Regions from separate parts of the Homo sapiens genome. Here regions 1 and 3 are each linked to region 2. The links are contacts of gene promoters, found by promoter capture Hi-C in blood cells and fetal thymus (Javierre and others, 2016). All regions are on one chromosome and are shown on one strand. Each heading gives the region's core, a stretch centred on a gene start or on the middle of the fragment in contact. The rest is flanking DNA. Distances are from core to core; before and after follow the strand shown.

What was found. Contacts are between HindIII fragments. The CHiCAGO score rates a contact against its expected background, and 5 or more counts as called.
Region 1: the fragment with the promoter of AQP10 here is called in contact with the fragment with the promoter of SHC1 in region 2 in 1 of 17 cell types (non-activated CD4 T cells); the score reaches 5.3 in non-activated CD4 T cells.
Region 3: a contact is called between the fragment with the promoter of UBAP2L here and the fragment with the promoter of SHC1 in region 2, in 1 of 17 cell types (neutrophils). The highest score is 5.4, in neutrophils.

What each region holds. Positions count from the first base shown.
Region 1 is chr1:154,318,590-154,323,038 of GRCh38, forward strand. It overlaps AQP10 (aquaporin 10), which reads left to right and starts at 2,504. Exons shown (of 6, transcript NM_080429.3): 1 at 2,504-2,671; 2 at 3,344-3,470; 3 at 4,393-4,449. The coding sequence starts at 2,567. RefSeq lists a silencer at 2,283-2,474. The HindIII fragment of the contact is 12,155 bases long and covers 1-4,449 here.
Region 2 is chr1:154,968,859-154,973,385 of GRCh38, forward strand. SHC1 (SHC adaptor protein 1) reads right to left here and starts at 1,889. Exons shown (of 12, transcript NM_001130040.2): 1 at 1,174-1,889; 2 at 520-590. The coding sequence starts at 1,668. RefSeq lists enhancers at 666-1,216, 1,217-1,767. The HindIII fragment of the contact is 11,130 bases long and covers 1-4,527 here.
Region 3 is chr1:154,219,236-154,224,060 of GRCh38, forward strand. It overlaps UBAP2L (ubiquitin associated protein 2 like), which reads left to right and starts at 1,720. Exons shown (of 27, transcript NM_014847.4): 1 at 1,720-1,740. It overlaps LTAP1 (lipid transport auxiliary protein 1), which reads right to left and starts at 1,355. Exons shown (of 7, transcript NM_001098616.3): 1 at 1,107-1,355; 2 at 601-702. The coding sequence starts at 1,172. RefSeq lists enhancers at 728-1,475, 1,054-1,493, 1,476-2,223 and silencers at 814-883, 1,744-1,893. The HindIII fragment of the contact is 10,463 bases long and covers 1-4,825 here.

The DNA.
Region 1 (4,449 bases), core at 1,254-3,753, 650 kb before region 2:
ATGGCCGGGCATGGTGGCTCATGCCATGACAGTTTATAAATGCCATGACAATGACAGGAAGTTACCCTATATGGTCTAAAAAGGGGAGGCATGAATAATCCACCTCTTGTTTAGCATATCATCAAGAAACAACCATAAACATGGGCAACCAGCAGCCCTCGGGGCTGCTCTGTCTATGGAGTAGCCATTGTTTTATTCCTTTACTTTCCTAATAAACTTGCTTTCACTTTACTCTATGGACTCGCCCTGAATTCTTTTTTTCTTTTTTTTGAGGCGGAGTCTCGTTCTGTCACCCAGGCTGGAGTGCAGTGGTGCGATCTCGGCTCACTGCAACCTCCACCTCCCGGGTTCATGCCATTCTCCTGCCTCAGCCTCCCAAGTAGCTGGGACTACAGGCGCCCACCACCATGCCCGGCTAATTTTTTTGTATTTTTAATGGAGACGGGGTTTCACCATGTTAGCCAGGATGGTCTCAATCTCCTGACTTTGTGATCCCGCCTTGGCCTCCCAAAGTGCTAGGATTACAGGCATGAGCCGCCGCACTCAGCCTGAATTATTTCTAGTGTGAGATCCAAGAACCCTCTCTTGGGATCTGGATTCAGACCCCTTTCCTGTAACAAGATTAGGCACCAGGAGAAACTGACACACATGGATGATATAACAGATGCCTAAATGGATCCTATGGGGGAACTGGAGCTGGAACAGCCCTTTAGAGTTGTCGCAAAGTGAGGCAAAGAGGCTAGACTTTTATATCCCTCCATCAATCAGTGTTTGACATGGGCCCCATAGGAGGGCATGTAACCTTCGGTGAGGCATCTTTCTGACTTGAAGGGCATTGCCCAATGAGGGAGGTAGCTATGTGGTATCAGCAGCTGGTATTTCCTACATGTAGCGAATGGGCATATTGGCTCCCAAGGGGGAATCTGGGTGGAGCACTATAGTATCCATTAAACCTAGTAAAGAAATATTATTTCTTTACTAGTCACACAGATGTGCCCAGGACAGTGGTAGAGCCCACAGGGTTACATAAATCATAATGGTAGCCCTCAAGAACTTCATAAACTGTATATGGTATTTTAAAAAGTTGCATATTGTCTGTTTCCACCTACTAGAACATAAGCTCTAGGAGGGCAGAGACTATGTTTTGTTCACCACTGTTTCTCCAGTGTCTAGACGTAGATTCTTTGAATGCATTTAATTGGAGCCTTGAGATATGAAGAAGTAGGATGCGGTTACTTCATGCAGAGCAAGAGTGGCATGCACCCAGAGAAGGCCAGGTGGAGCTCAGCATGAGTGTGAAGGCCTCATGTCAAGCCATGTCAGGGGACACAAAGATGGAGTATTCTCTAACCTATGTGACACTCGGCATAAGGGAAGTACAAGCACTCAATATGTGAGTTTCATTCCCACAGTCTGTGGTCTTTAGCCCAGTCTTTCCAGATGCCTATTGAGTTCTTCAAGCATCCAAATGGTTTGGGGTAAGGCTTCAGGTTCTAAATGAGAGGCTTTGTGGGTTACCAGCTGGAGAGTCAGAAAATCTGGATTTGAATTCACTCAGCCATGAAATAATTGTGTGATCTTGGGCCGGGCACGGTGGCTCACGCTTGTAATCCCAGCACTTTGGGAGGCCAAGGAAGGTGAATCACTAGAGGTCAGGAGTTTGAGACCAGCCTGGCCAACATGGTGAAACCCCGTCTTTTTTTTTTTTTTTTTTTTTGAGACAAAGTCTCGCTCTGTTGCCAGGCTGGAGTGCAGTGGCACAATCTCGGCTCACTGCAACCTCCGCCTCCCTGGTTCAAGTGATTCCCCTGCCTCAGCCTCCCGAGTAGCTGGGACTACAGGCGTGCACCACCACGCTAATTTTTTTGTATTTTAGTAGAGATGGAGTTTCACCATGTTGGCCAGGATAGTCTTGATCTCCTGACCTCGTGATCTGCCTGCCTCGGCCTCCCGAGAAACCAAGTCTTTACTAAAAAATATCAAAATTAGCCAGGTGTGATGGACCTGTAGTCCCATCTACTTGGGAGGCTGAGGCAGGAGAATTGCTTGAACCTGGGAGGTGGAGGTTGCAGTAAGCTGAGATGGTGCCACTGCACTCCAGCCTGGGGGACAGAGCAAGACTCTCTCTCAGAAAAAAAAAAAAAAAAAGTTTGATCTTGGGGAGTTCTAAGGCCCACTAGCCTCATCTGTAGAATGGAAGCAATAGTACTACTTTGCAGAGCTGACTTCAGGACCAAGAGATCTAATGTCTATGAAGCGGGGTACTTCCTTCTATTTGTCAGGATGGGGGAGGCTAGTCCTGTGATGACTGGGAATGAAGGGTAAAAGAGACAGAGGTTGGGTAAACTCCAGGCTCTGTGTTCATAGCCTGCTCCCAGACATTCTCTTGTTATCTCTCTGTTTCCTAGCCTACACACGTGCACAGACACGTAGCTGCTGTTCAGGAACTGAGCTAATGGTTTTAAAGTCTGTTCCTTATCTTTGCTGGAGGCAGGCAGTAGCTGTGCAGTGACAGTGTGCCTATGCAGACAGAGGGAGCAGTGAATAGCAATAGGGTGTTTCCACCATGGTCTTCACTCAGGCCCCGGCTGAAATCATGGGCCACCTCCGGATACGCAGCCTCCTGGCCCGGCAGTGCCTGGCAGAGTTTCTGGGTGTGTTTGTACTCATGGTAGGTAGGATCACTGCGGGAAGGAAAGAAGGGGGTTGGGCAAAAGTTCCTGGCTCCTTCTGTTGTCCTTATCTCTTTCTCTTGGTGTCCCCCTTCCTCTCAACTCCCTATCACTTTTCGTTTTTATCCTCTCGTCTCTCCTAATCTCCTTTCCTCTCCTACTTCATCATTTTTATTCTTGTCATTTTTATTCTTTCTTTAATAACAAGTGTATCATAGTTCTTGAAACATAATTTTTCTCTCTTCAGTTTCCCATTTTTATGAAAGACCATTTTCATGGTAAGACCAATGTGCTTTATTATACTTGGCCTGATGATTGTATAAAGTGCAGCAAGAATAATTATTTTTCACATAGGCTTTTAAAATTGGCTTTGATGGAACTCTTCCATAGAAAGAATCTTAGATAAGACTTTTTAAAGCTGAGCCCTGCCATGGGTTTGTACCCTCAAATGCCTATGAGTTGGGTAAATTCTTTTCTTTTTTCCCACATTCTTTCCCTTTCTTCTTCCTCCACTTTCCCCATTTCTTTTCCCTTCCCTCCTTCTGCTTTTCTCCTTCCCTTGCTTGTCTTCTGTGCTCATTCATCTCCTTGGCTGCTCCCCTGGCCTTCCCAACCTTTCTCCCTGTTGGTCTCCTGGGCTCCCTGTTCCTCATCTCTCCTCTTCTCAGCAGCTCCTCACCCAAGGAGCTGTGGCCCAGGCTGTCACCAGTGGAGAAACCAAAGGCAACTTCTTCACCATGTTTCTGGCTGGCTCTCTGGCCGTTACGATAGCCATCTACGTGGGTGGTAACGTCTCAGGTGAGGAGGGTGGGGTCTGGTCATCAGAGCACGTGGGATGTGCATGCCAGTTTGTCTGTCTGGTGATGGTGGAAACGCAAATCCTTCTGTGACTCGTGGACATTATCCCCTTGAACAGTGTCCCAGACTGAAATAAGCCTTTGGCCCCACCAGCCCCTCCTCTTTCTGTATCTCTCCATCCTGCTTCCTCACACTAATGCTTGGCTCACCTAGACAGAAATCAATGGCAGGGCACGAAGGGCAGCTGCTATCCTCTTGTATCCCCCACCTGAAGTCCTCTGGGGGCTCATCTCCACTCAGGACCTCTCCTGTTTGTACCCCAGATACACACTGCATCGGTGTGCTTGGGTGGAGCCTTGAGACATAGTGTGTTGCTGTGGAAAAAGCAGACAGACCTAGGTTCCAACTTTGGATTCACAGTGTCTTCTTCTTTTTTTTTTTTTTTTTTCTTTTTTTTTGAGATGGAGTTTCACTCTGTTGCCCAGGCTGGAGAGCAGTGGTGTGATGTCTGTTCACTGCAACCTCTGCCCCTGGGTTCACGCGATTCTCCTGCCTCAGCATCCCGAATAGCTGATTTTACAGGCACCTGCTACCACGCCTGGCTAATATTTGTGTTTTTAGTGGAAACGGGGTTTCACCATGTTGGCCAGGCTGGTCTGGAATTCCTGACCTCAAGTGATCCACTGCCTCGGCCTCCCAAAGTGCTGGGATTACAGGCGTGAGCCACTGTGCCTGGCCCACAGTGTGACTTTGCTAAGTCACTTAACATCTGTAACATCTGGAGCCTCAATTTCCTAAGCTGTGTGATGAGAATTACACTATCTGCCTTAAGAGCTATAGGAAGGAGCAGTAGTGTTGTCTGGTGACAATGCCTGGCAGTGACACTTAATAGATGCTCTTTTTCTTTCCTTGATACTTGAAGGGGCCCACCTGAATCCAGCCTTCTCCCTGGCCATGTGCATCGTTGGACGCCTCCCCT
Region 2 (4,527 bases), core at 639-3,138:
CCAGCGCCTGCCTGCCTGCCTCCCACTCAACTGGGGCTGCCACAGGGCTGGGGGAGGGGAAAGCCAGGCCAGACTCCCAGGGCACTCCAGGCTCTTTGTCATGGTGGATTGAATTAAGGGCCTTTAATATTTGATGACACTGAGAGGCCACTTCCTGGCTGATTGGGTTAGGGCCTCAATGGGTATAGCCCCACCCCCTTCCAGCTACCAAATGTCCCATTCCCTTCCCAAAGGCAGCAGCAACCTTCCATCTACCCCCCTTTTCTACTCCAGCTCCACCTGCCAGCTGCTTCTGCCACCTTCCCCACAACTCCCAAGGCTGGATAGGTAAGGAGGATCCGGGCCAAAGGGGCCTCCTTTCAGTAAGAGGCGGAATCACTACCTCAGCTTTCTCTCAATCCCCTTTACTACGCAAAGATCAGCCCCCAGCAGCAGCACCCAAGTGACCCACTCCCCTCCTCTGTTTCCCATGGCCTCACTAATCCCAGGACTCCCACAATCCACTCCCTCCCCACTAACCTGGTGACCTGAGTCCGGGTGTTGAAGTCCAGGGCACGCATTGACTGGAGGACCTCCACACAACCCATGTACTAAGGGGAGGGAGAAGAGGACAGCAGGTCAGCGGCTCCCCCACCCCAGCCCCTTCACAAAGGGCCCTAGGACTTTACCCATATGGTCCCTAAGGGAAGTAAAGAGGAAGAAGTTCTGCCCACTTCCCGTGGCTACATCCCACAACCAAGGTGAAAGACAACAGGGAATGAGGAGAAAAAGAAAAGGCAGGCTAGAAGGACCTCACACACTGGGGAGAGAGTTTGGAGGGGACCGACAGGCATTGGCTGGGATGGAGTGACAACTCCAGAAAGCGGGAGGAGAATGGAGGAAAGATCAAGAAGTCATTCATTCCAACACTTATTAAGAGCTTCTGCCATGCTGGGCATTGTGCTAAGCATGCCAGGGTGGGGGTGGGGGAGTGAAAAGAAGGAAGGGGGCCCAGGCAAAGCTGGAAGGGAAGGGGCTACAGAATCGGGGAAGGGATGAGAAAGGTTTAGGAAATAGGACACTGAAACGGGGTTGTTGGGGAACAGCAGGAAAAAAGAGATTCCGGCCAAGCTGGAGTGAGCATTAGAACTGGAGGGGGTCTGCGGGGGAATGGAGAGGAGGATGTTCACTCACCCGAACCAAGTAGGAAACCCCGGGTCCCATGACTTTGTCGTTGGGATGCAGCCAGCCCCGCGTGGGCTTATTGACAAAGCTCCCGTGGCGGGTCCACTCCTCGCCCCCAAGCTGGCCCCCTTCCACCCGAGTCCTGCGCCCGCCGCCTCCACTCAGCTTGTTCATGTCCTGGAGGAGGGGTAGGGGGCCTGAGTCTGGCATGGCTGCCCCTACGATCCCCTCCCCATCATCAGCTGCCCTTCCTGGCTCCCCCTTAGACCCTGGGCGCCCCCCAGCCGGGTTGGCCAGCCTCAGGTTGCTCATCCGGGGGAAGAAGGAGCACAGGGTAGTGGGACTATCGTCCCCAGGCAGAGGAGGCAGGATGGGCCCCAGGGATGAAGCTGATGGGGAAGGCAGCTCCTCCGGGGGGGTGGACCCAGAAGCCCCTTCCTCCAGCGATGACAGAGACTCATTCCGGAGTGGATTGTACTTGGGCTTGGGGGGCAGGAGATCCATAGTTGAGGTGAAAGAGGGGCTGCTGCCCAGCCTGGCCCCCCTGCCAGTTTGGGCAAGGGGGCCAGGCAGGGGGTATCCCCAGGCCCTTAGCCTGGTTGGACCTCTGTGGCCCAGGAGTCACAGAAGTCCTGGGGAGGGAGAGGGACAAGTGGCTTCCGCTCCCCAGCTCAGACCCAGACAGTTTCAGGCCCCATCCCCGCCCAACGTGGAGCCTCTTCTCTGGCTGAGAAGAGAACAGGCTGGACCCAGCGCTTCTGGCTCCTCCCCAGGGGCGGGGAGCTAAGGGGAGAGACCAATCGTGAGGACAGTGCTGACTCACAGGCTCAGAGGGGCTGAGCCCCCACCCCGCCCCAACCTCGAACTGGAGCAGGGGGTAGGGCTATCCAAGCCCCTCTCCCCTGCCCTATACAAACAACTAGTAATCTGGGGAGAAGTAAAGTGGGGGTGGGAGGGAAGGATGGAAGAGTGGGACGGAAAGGAAGGAGATAGGAGGTCTGGGTCACTCAAAACCGGACACACGCAGGCCAAAGGGGGCAGGAAGCCAGGCAGGAGTACAGGGGAATGAGGGAGGAAACAGAGGCAGCTGGGGGTGGAAAAGGGAGGAGATCTCAGAGCTCAGCATTTCCCTTCCTGTCCTGGTTGGACACTCGAATTCCCCCACCCTCTCTATGCCCGAAAGCTGGCTGGCCCCAGCCCAGGCCACCCCCAACCGCTACCCCATACAGTAAGCCTGGGCCATTAGCATCCTCTGCTACAGCAGCTGTGGACTGGAGCTAGCGAAGTGGGGATGGGAAGTAAGTGGTCCCAATGGATGCAGAGCAGGGCCAAGAGGAAGAGCAAAGCTGGTGAAAAAAGGGGAATAAAGTTCAACCTGGATGATACATCAGGAAGCTACCAGGCAAGAAGGGAACAAGAGGACATGCTGGTCACGGCTTGTTCTCTACGTATGCCATCTACCACACCAAGACCGATGGCTCATAGCCAAGCACTGTCCTGTCTCCCCTTTCCACAGGGCTTGTTAACACAGCACACTGTCAAGGGTGAGAATGAGGCAATCAGGTCCCCACTCCCACTCCAAACCACCCCAATTCACATCCCTCCTCTTACAGGGCCCTAAGCCCCACCAAAGAGCACAGCATCCTTCACACCAGGGAAGGAGCCTGGCTGGAGGAGGTGGAAGAAACAGTTCTCCAAGAGAAGTAGAAACTACAGGCCAGGAAGGGACAGAGAGATCAGAAGACACATCTGCGTCAATAAGGACAGGAGAAAAATAAGTACAGGAGAAAGGGGTGTCAGGAGAAGATGGGTTGAAGCTGGACACAGGGAACAGTCCCAAACCCATTCCTGCCACCCACGGCTTCCTGCCACTGCTCTTCCGGAGAATGCCACAGGCAAAGCTGGAAAGTGACCAAAAAAAAAAAAACAAAGATACGTATTCCTACCGGGCGCGGTGGCTCACACCTGTGATACCAGCACTTTGGGAGGCTGAGGCGGGTGGATCACCTGAAGTCAGGAGTTCGAGACCAGCCTGGTCAACATGGTGAAACCCTGTCTCTACTAAAAATACAAAAATTAGCTGGGCGTGGTGGCGGGCACCTGTAATCCCAGCTCAGGAGGCTGAGGCAGGAGAATCGCTCGAACCCAGGAGGCGGAGGTTGCAGTGAGCCGAGATCGAGCCATTGCACTCCAGCCTAGGTGACAAGAGCAAAACTCCGTCTCAAAAAAAAAAAAATACGTATTCCCCCCAGCTCACCTTGGAATTACCCTTAGATTTACTTCAGAGAATTAAAATATAGATAGATAATTATCCTGATTAACAACATTAACACTTGAAGTGTGTTAGATGCTGTGCTTAACTCTTACATCTCCCCTTAGTGCTCATTCCAGAAGAGCTTTGTCACTCTGCCAGCCAATCCTGAGAAGGAATTTTATCACTTCATTTCCAGCCAGCTCTCGGGCATAGAGAGAATGAGGAAAGGATTCCACCATAGCCTCACACCCCCAAAACACACAAACACACACTAGGATGTCCCTCATCTGTAGAGATGATGTTCTGTGGGAGCCTACAGTATCCAGAGCCAGGGAAGGACCAACGGGTGTGGGCGTTCGGAAGAAAAGAAAGACGTATGACTCTTGAAATTTACATAGGGAGAAAGGAGATTGCCTACTGGAAGTCCAGGTGATTGGGTGTAGGGGAAAAGCTGTGTGTGGCTTCGCAGCCCAACTGGGAGGAGGGGACAGGGGCGGGAAGTGGCAGGAAATGGCGAAAGCCTCAGGAATGTTTCCAGCAGGGAAGGCTGGGCAAACGGGGCCAGGAGGAATGCCCAGACAAGAACTCTGGTTAGGGGGAGGGGAAGAGACAGAGAAGTAGCGACTGAACTGTCCCTTAAAAAAAAAAAAATCAAACAACAAAAAGAGCACTATTATCTACCCCCACTCCAAACTACCGTTCTTCTGGTAGTAGAAAACTTTTGCTCATGTCACACCCACATGCCACACACCAACAAATCCATGGTCTTATCCACTTATGTCTAGGAAGGCCTAGAGCTACTTCTGGGATGAGGTTGGTCCTGGGAAGGGAAAGCCAGGAAGTGAGGCTGGGAGTCTGAGGGCAAGTCTCTCTCTCCCTCTCGTGCCAAACCCCACGTTCAGCCCTTTCAAATAGTTCTACCCTTGGAGGAGGTTAAGAAAGAGGAAAACGGGGACGGGCGCAGTGGCTAACGCCTGTAATCCTAACACTTAAGGAGGCTGATAAGGGTGGAGCACCTGAGGTCAGGAGTTCGAGGCTAGCCTAGCCAACATGGGGAAACCCCGTCTCTACTAAAAATACAAAAATTAGCCGGGCGTGGTGGTGGGCGC
Region 3 (4,825 bases), core at 470-2,969, 750 kb before region 2:
GGAACTCAGGAAAGAGTTCTAGGATAGAGATAAAATTTCATCTGTAGCTAAAGCCAAGGAAAGGAAGACAGTCACCTAAGGAGAAAGTACAGACAAAGATAAAAGACCACTGGGTTATTCACTTCCTATACGTCTTCTGGTAAACTGCCTCCTTTTCTTGGGCTTCTTGGTAACATGAATGGTGGAATTAGATGATTTATGGAGCTCCTCTTAAGTCTAAAATTATGTAAAGGTAACCCTTCTCATTGCTCTTGGGTTAACCTTAATGATCTCAACCCCATCCTAATCAAACAAAAAACACTGGGTAGTTTAAGATGAGCTGGGAAATATTTTACTACAAACAGTTGGGAACTTCGACCCAAGCCCTTCATTCTGCAGATACAAAAACAGAAGTTCCAGGATGAGCCACATGCTTGCCACAGCACTGAGCAGGTAAGCCAAGTTCCAAAGCGCACAGTGCCTGCTCAACTTAGTAAGTACAAGGACAAGTGCACGCAAAGAAACATGAGAATTAAAGTCATCACTAAAGGCAGAGGAAATCTCATTCTTGACCCTAAAAGATCTGGAGAAGTATGTTTAACTTGTGCCCTAAGGACCTACCTTGGGGGCATTGTGTCCCACAGGGACATGAGGTCCCCTTCGAGATTTCATTGCAAAGCGCATGATTTGCCTCTTCACAAAAATAAATAGCAGTACAAACACCTGTCCAAAAAGATGTAAAAATCCTTTAATAAAAAGTCAGTTTTGTTTTGTTTTTTTTTTAAAAAAGCATGCCTTCATTCCAAATCCCCAGATTCCGGCTCTCAGGAATGTTTCAGGGTAAAACTTGGGGCAAAGCAAGGCCGTTATGATGGGGGTGGATCTAAGAAGCCAGCAGCAGGGAGGCGTGGGGTCTGTGCTCTAGCGTTAAAGGGAGGGTTCTAGACTAACGAGGGCGGGTCGGCCCGACTAAGTGACTTAAACTCCCACCTACTCCTGGAATAAGGAGTCAAAGCCCGGATAGGCGCAGGTGAGTGGGTGGAGAATGCAGACGGGGTACAGCTCAAAAGGAGGGTCTCTACTGGGTAAGATGCGACAGCAGGAATGGGGTGGGGTAATCTCCTCACCAGGCTCCCGTAGGCCATCACCAGCACGACATTCACCCCGGAGAGCCAGTTACTGCCGGACGCCATGGCCTCCCTACCTCGCGCAGAATTGTTCGGGTTTACCCCGCTGTCCTGGCTGGTCAGCCCAGGCTCCGCCGAAGCGACGGCGCCTGGGTCCCCTGGAGCTCCCCGGCCATTTCCTTACGGGGGAAGACCAAGCCAGACCCGGCCTGAAAACATGGCGGACAGGCAGGAGAGCTGGGAAAGGAGAACGACGCCTTCCAGCTTCCCCCTGACACGTGACTCAGGCAGGCAATGGCACCCAGGAGCGTCGAGCGCTCAGACGCGGAACTACGACAGTAAGAGGAAGCGGCGGCCATCCGTGCGTCACGTGGTGGAGGCAGGGCCGCCGTGAAGGAGGCGGGGTGGACTCGCGGAGCCGGAAAGAGGTGTCTCGTGGCGAGGCGGCACGCGCACGCTTGCGTGCGCGCCCCTTTTAGCGTCACGCGCTGAGGGACGCAGGAAGGCAAGTGGGCGGGGGAAGGCGCGAGAGCGAGCGCGAGAGGGAAAAGGAGGGAGGGGGTGGGGAAGAGGGAATCTTATATCACGTGACAGGGGCGGCGCGGCCCGGGGTGTCAGTGTGGAGGAGACTGAGGTAAAGTTGGGAGCGCAGCGGCGTTGGCGGCGGCGGCGGCGGCAGCGGCAGCGCGGCGGGGCCGGGTATTGTCCGCGGCCCCTTTAAATCCGCGATCCCCCTTTTACCCTCCCTCTTTTCTCCCCTGCCCCCGCCGTATCCCCTCCCTCGGTAGGCCCCCCCACACCGTGTGTTCCCCCACTGTACACCCCCCCCCGAGTCATGCGAGCCCTGGCGCCCCCCACCTCGAGTCGGCCCCCGGAGGTTTTGTTTATGGTTGGGTTCGCGGCCTAGTGGGCCGCGCCAGAGCCGGGGCCTCGATTTGGGAGCGTGGCCGGGGCGGGGCTTGGAGCAGCCGTAGGAAGGGGGGGCCATGCGGCTAGAGCCTGAGAGGGGAGAGCGAGAAAGAGCGCGAGCGAGCGAGGCCTGGGCCTTGCCTGAGGTAGGGCTCTCTCTTCACCCCGGCCGGTGCCTGCGGAGGAGAGGGCCTCCTCCCTTTCCACCCACTGCGGGCCTCCTCTGATCCGGATCCGGCCTGGTTTGGGGGTGGCGTGGGGGAGGGAGGGCGATGGGGTGGAGCTCCCCCAAACTCCCCCATGTGGCCCTCAGTTTGGTGTGCGAAGGATTAATTTGTTCCGGCTGGGAGGTAGGGAGGAGATTGGCCCCGTGGGCTCTCGATGTGGCGCTGAGGGGGGTGAGCCTCCCATCCTCCACCCGTGGGCTTGCGTCCCCTCTCCGTTTCCAGGCTCTTTGTCAGCTCCTCTTATTACCCTCCCTTCTTTCTCACCAACCCAGTTCTTGGAATATGTTTTTGCTGCTGTCTTTAGCTTCCTGTTTATACTGTAGTTTGGGTACCCCAAACAATTGTGTTATTTGGGAAGCTGGACATGGAGGCCCCCATAGGGTGTATTTACGCTTAAGGGACGTCACTAGAGCACTGGGGTATTTGTTCACTCTTCTCATAATGGTACAGGAATGCCCAGTTTCTTCAAACCCTTAACCTTGTGGACAGCCCTTAAATTGCTTTGCAAACTGATGTCACAAACTGGAGACTGCTCCTTTTCCACCATTCTTGAAATGTAGCCACCTCTGGTGTAGGATGTTGTGGAAAGAAAAACACCACAGTAACAGGCGTTTTTGTTATTATTGTTAACGTTTTTGCCTTTGACTCTCCCTGATTATTAAATGGAGAAATCCTTTTTTTTTGTCTTCTCTCCCATCCTACCTTCCTCCGCCGCATATCCTGTTTTGGGGATACCTGATGTGACTTGCTGGGAGGTGATGGACATTACTAGTAACCAGCGTTTCTAGAGAATTAAAACATTTTGGCTGTGTATCAGTTGATAAAACTGCTTTGAGATCTGTCTCCATTGTACTTAAAGATTAGACTATCCCAATGATTACAGAGAATTAAAACATTTTGGCTGTGTATCAGTTGATAAAACTGCTTTGAGATCTGACACCATTGTCCTTAAAGATTAGACTATCTCAATGATTGTTTCCTTTGTGAATGGGAAATATTGCTGGCACATAAACTAGTGATGAAAGGCCTAAAAATGTCCTGTTTTGTTTTTCATCTTTAAAGCTCCTCCTTGCTATGTCCTAACTGGGAAGTACTCTTACTAACTAGATATCAAGGTGGTGGGGAAGGGGATGCAGGGGCCATTTCAACAAAGCATCTACAGAAATTAGTTGTTCTGTTAGAGGTAGCAAATTTTACCCAACTCAGTCTAGCTTCAGTTTCTGAATTGTTTCTTAAATTAGATTGTAAGCTCCCTGAGGGCAGCTACTAAGTCATACTGCTTTTGTATTTTCCTGAAGTATTGGACACATAGTAGATTCTCAATAAATATTTGTTATTTAGTTTTTTCAGTGAAATTTCTCTGGCTATTTTTTTAAGTAGCTAGTTTTCAAAAAAGAGTCAAGGGCACTCCTGTGTTGAAACCTCTGTTTACTCTCGCACGATTTCCTTGGTCTCCAATACTTCTCACCCTACTTCCTTTAAATCTTTTTATTTTCTAAGAAAGAGCAAGTAAGTAACAAGATTCTTCATCTCCAGTGTGATAGCTGGGAATGGGTCTGCTTGCTACTAATTCTGTGCCCTCAAGTGATCCATTCCAGATCACTTACTTTTGACCTGTTGCTCAGTGTTGTCACTACTAGGTGGTAAAAATTTTCTTAGTCACATTTCGAAGCACTTGTAAGAGGGAAATGTTACTAGCAAGAGTGATTAGGAGAATTTTTTTCTTTCTTGGTTAATTATATCTTTCAAGATGACTTTTTAATATGTTTACATCTGACTGGTACAGTATATGCAATAGTGTATAGCTAGTCATGCAGTTTATACCTGCAATATAACTTATCCTCACAAATAGATATCACATGTGGAGTAGAAAACAGTCAATATTTGTAAGTTACAGTAGTGGGTTGGAAATGACTATGCCATATTAGAAACTTCATCTTAGAGCCAATTTTAAAACAAAATAGTTTTCCTCTCGTCTTTATATATATACGTATATATGTGTATATGTAGTCTTGTTGATTTGGATTCGGGGTACTTGGTTAAACATTTTTTTTTTTTGTAAAGTTGAAACGACTATAATGCTAACCTGGGAAAATGGGCTACTGTGTAGCAAATAATCCTTTCTAGCTTGAAATACTTATGGGCTTTTGTGTGCCAATATGTGTAGGGGGAAGAGGTAATGGGTTAAAAATTACCTGAGAAGCTACCTTAAAAAAATCTTTCTTGATACAAAGACCTATGCAACCTATTGACGCAACTTGGTGAAGAATTTATGCACAGAAAAAGTCAGCTTTCTCTGTGACATCCAAGAAAGTCAGATGAAATTCACTTCCCTAATAGTTAATCCTTGCATATTTCTTTAGAAGTCCTTCCTCCCACTCAAATCCAGTAATATCTCTGGGCAGTCTAGAATTACGTTGTATAAGGTTTCATTAACAAGAAAAATTAAATATAGAGCAGAAAAGTATAAACTTACCCTCTTTGGAAGGGAATAAATGCAGAGTAACCTATTATTTTGAACACTCTATCATATGATTAATGTTTTCTTTTTTACTAAATGCAGCAGCTGAGATTGTATTATAA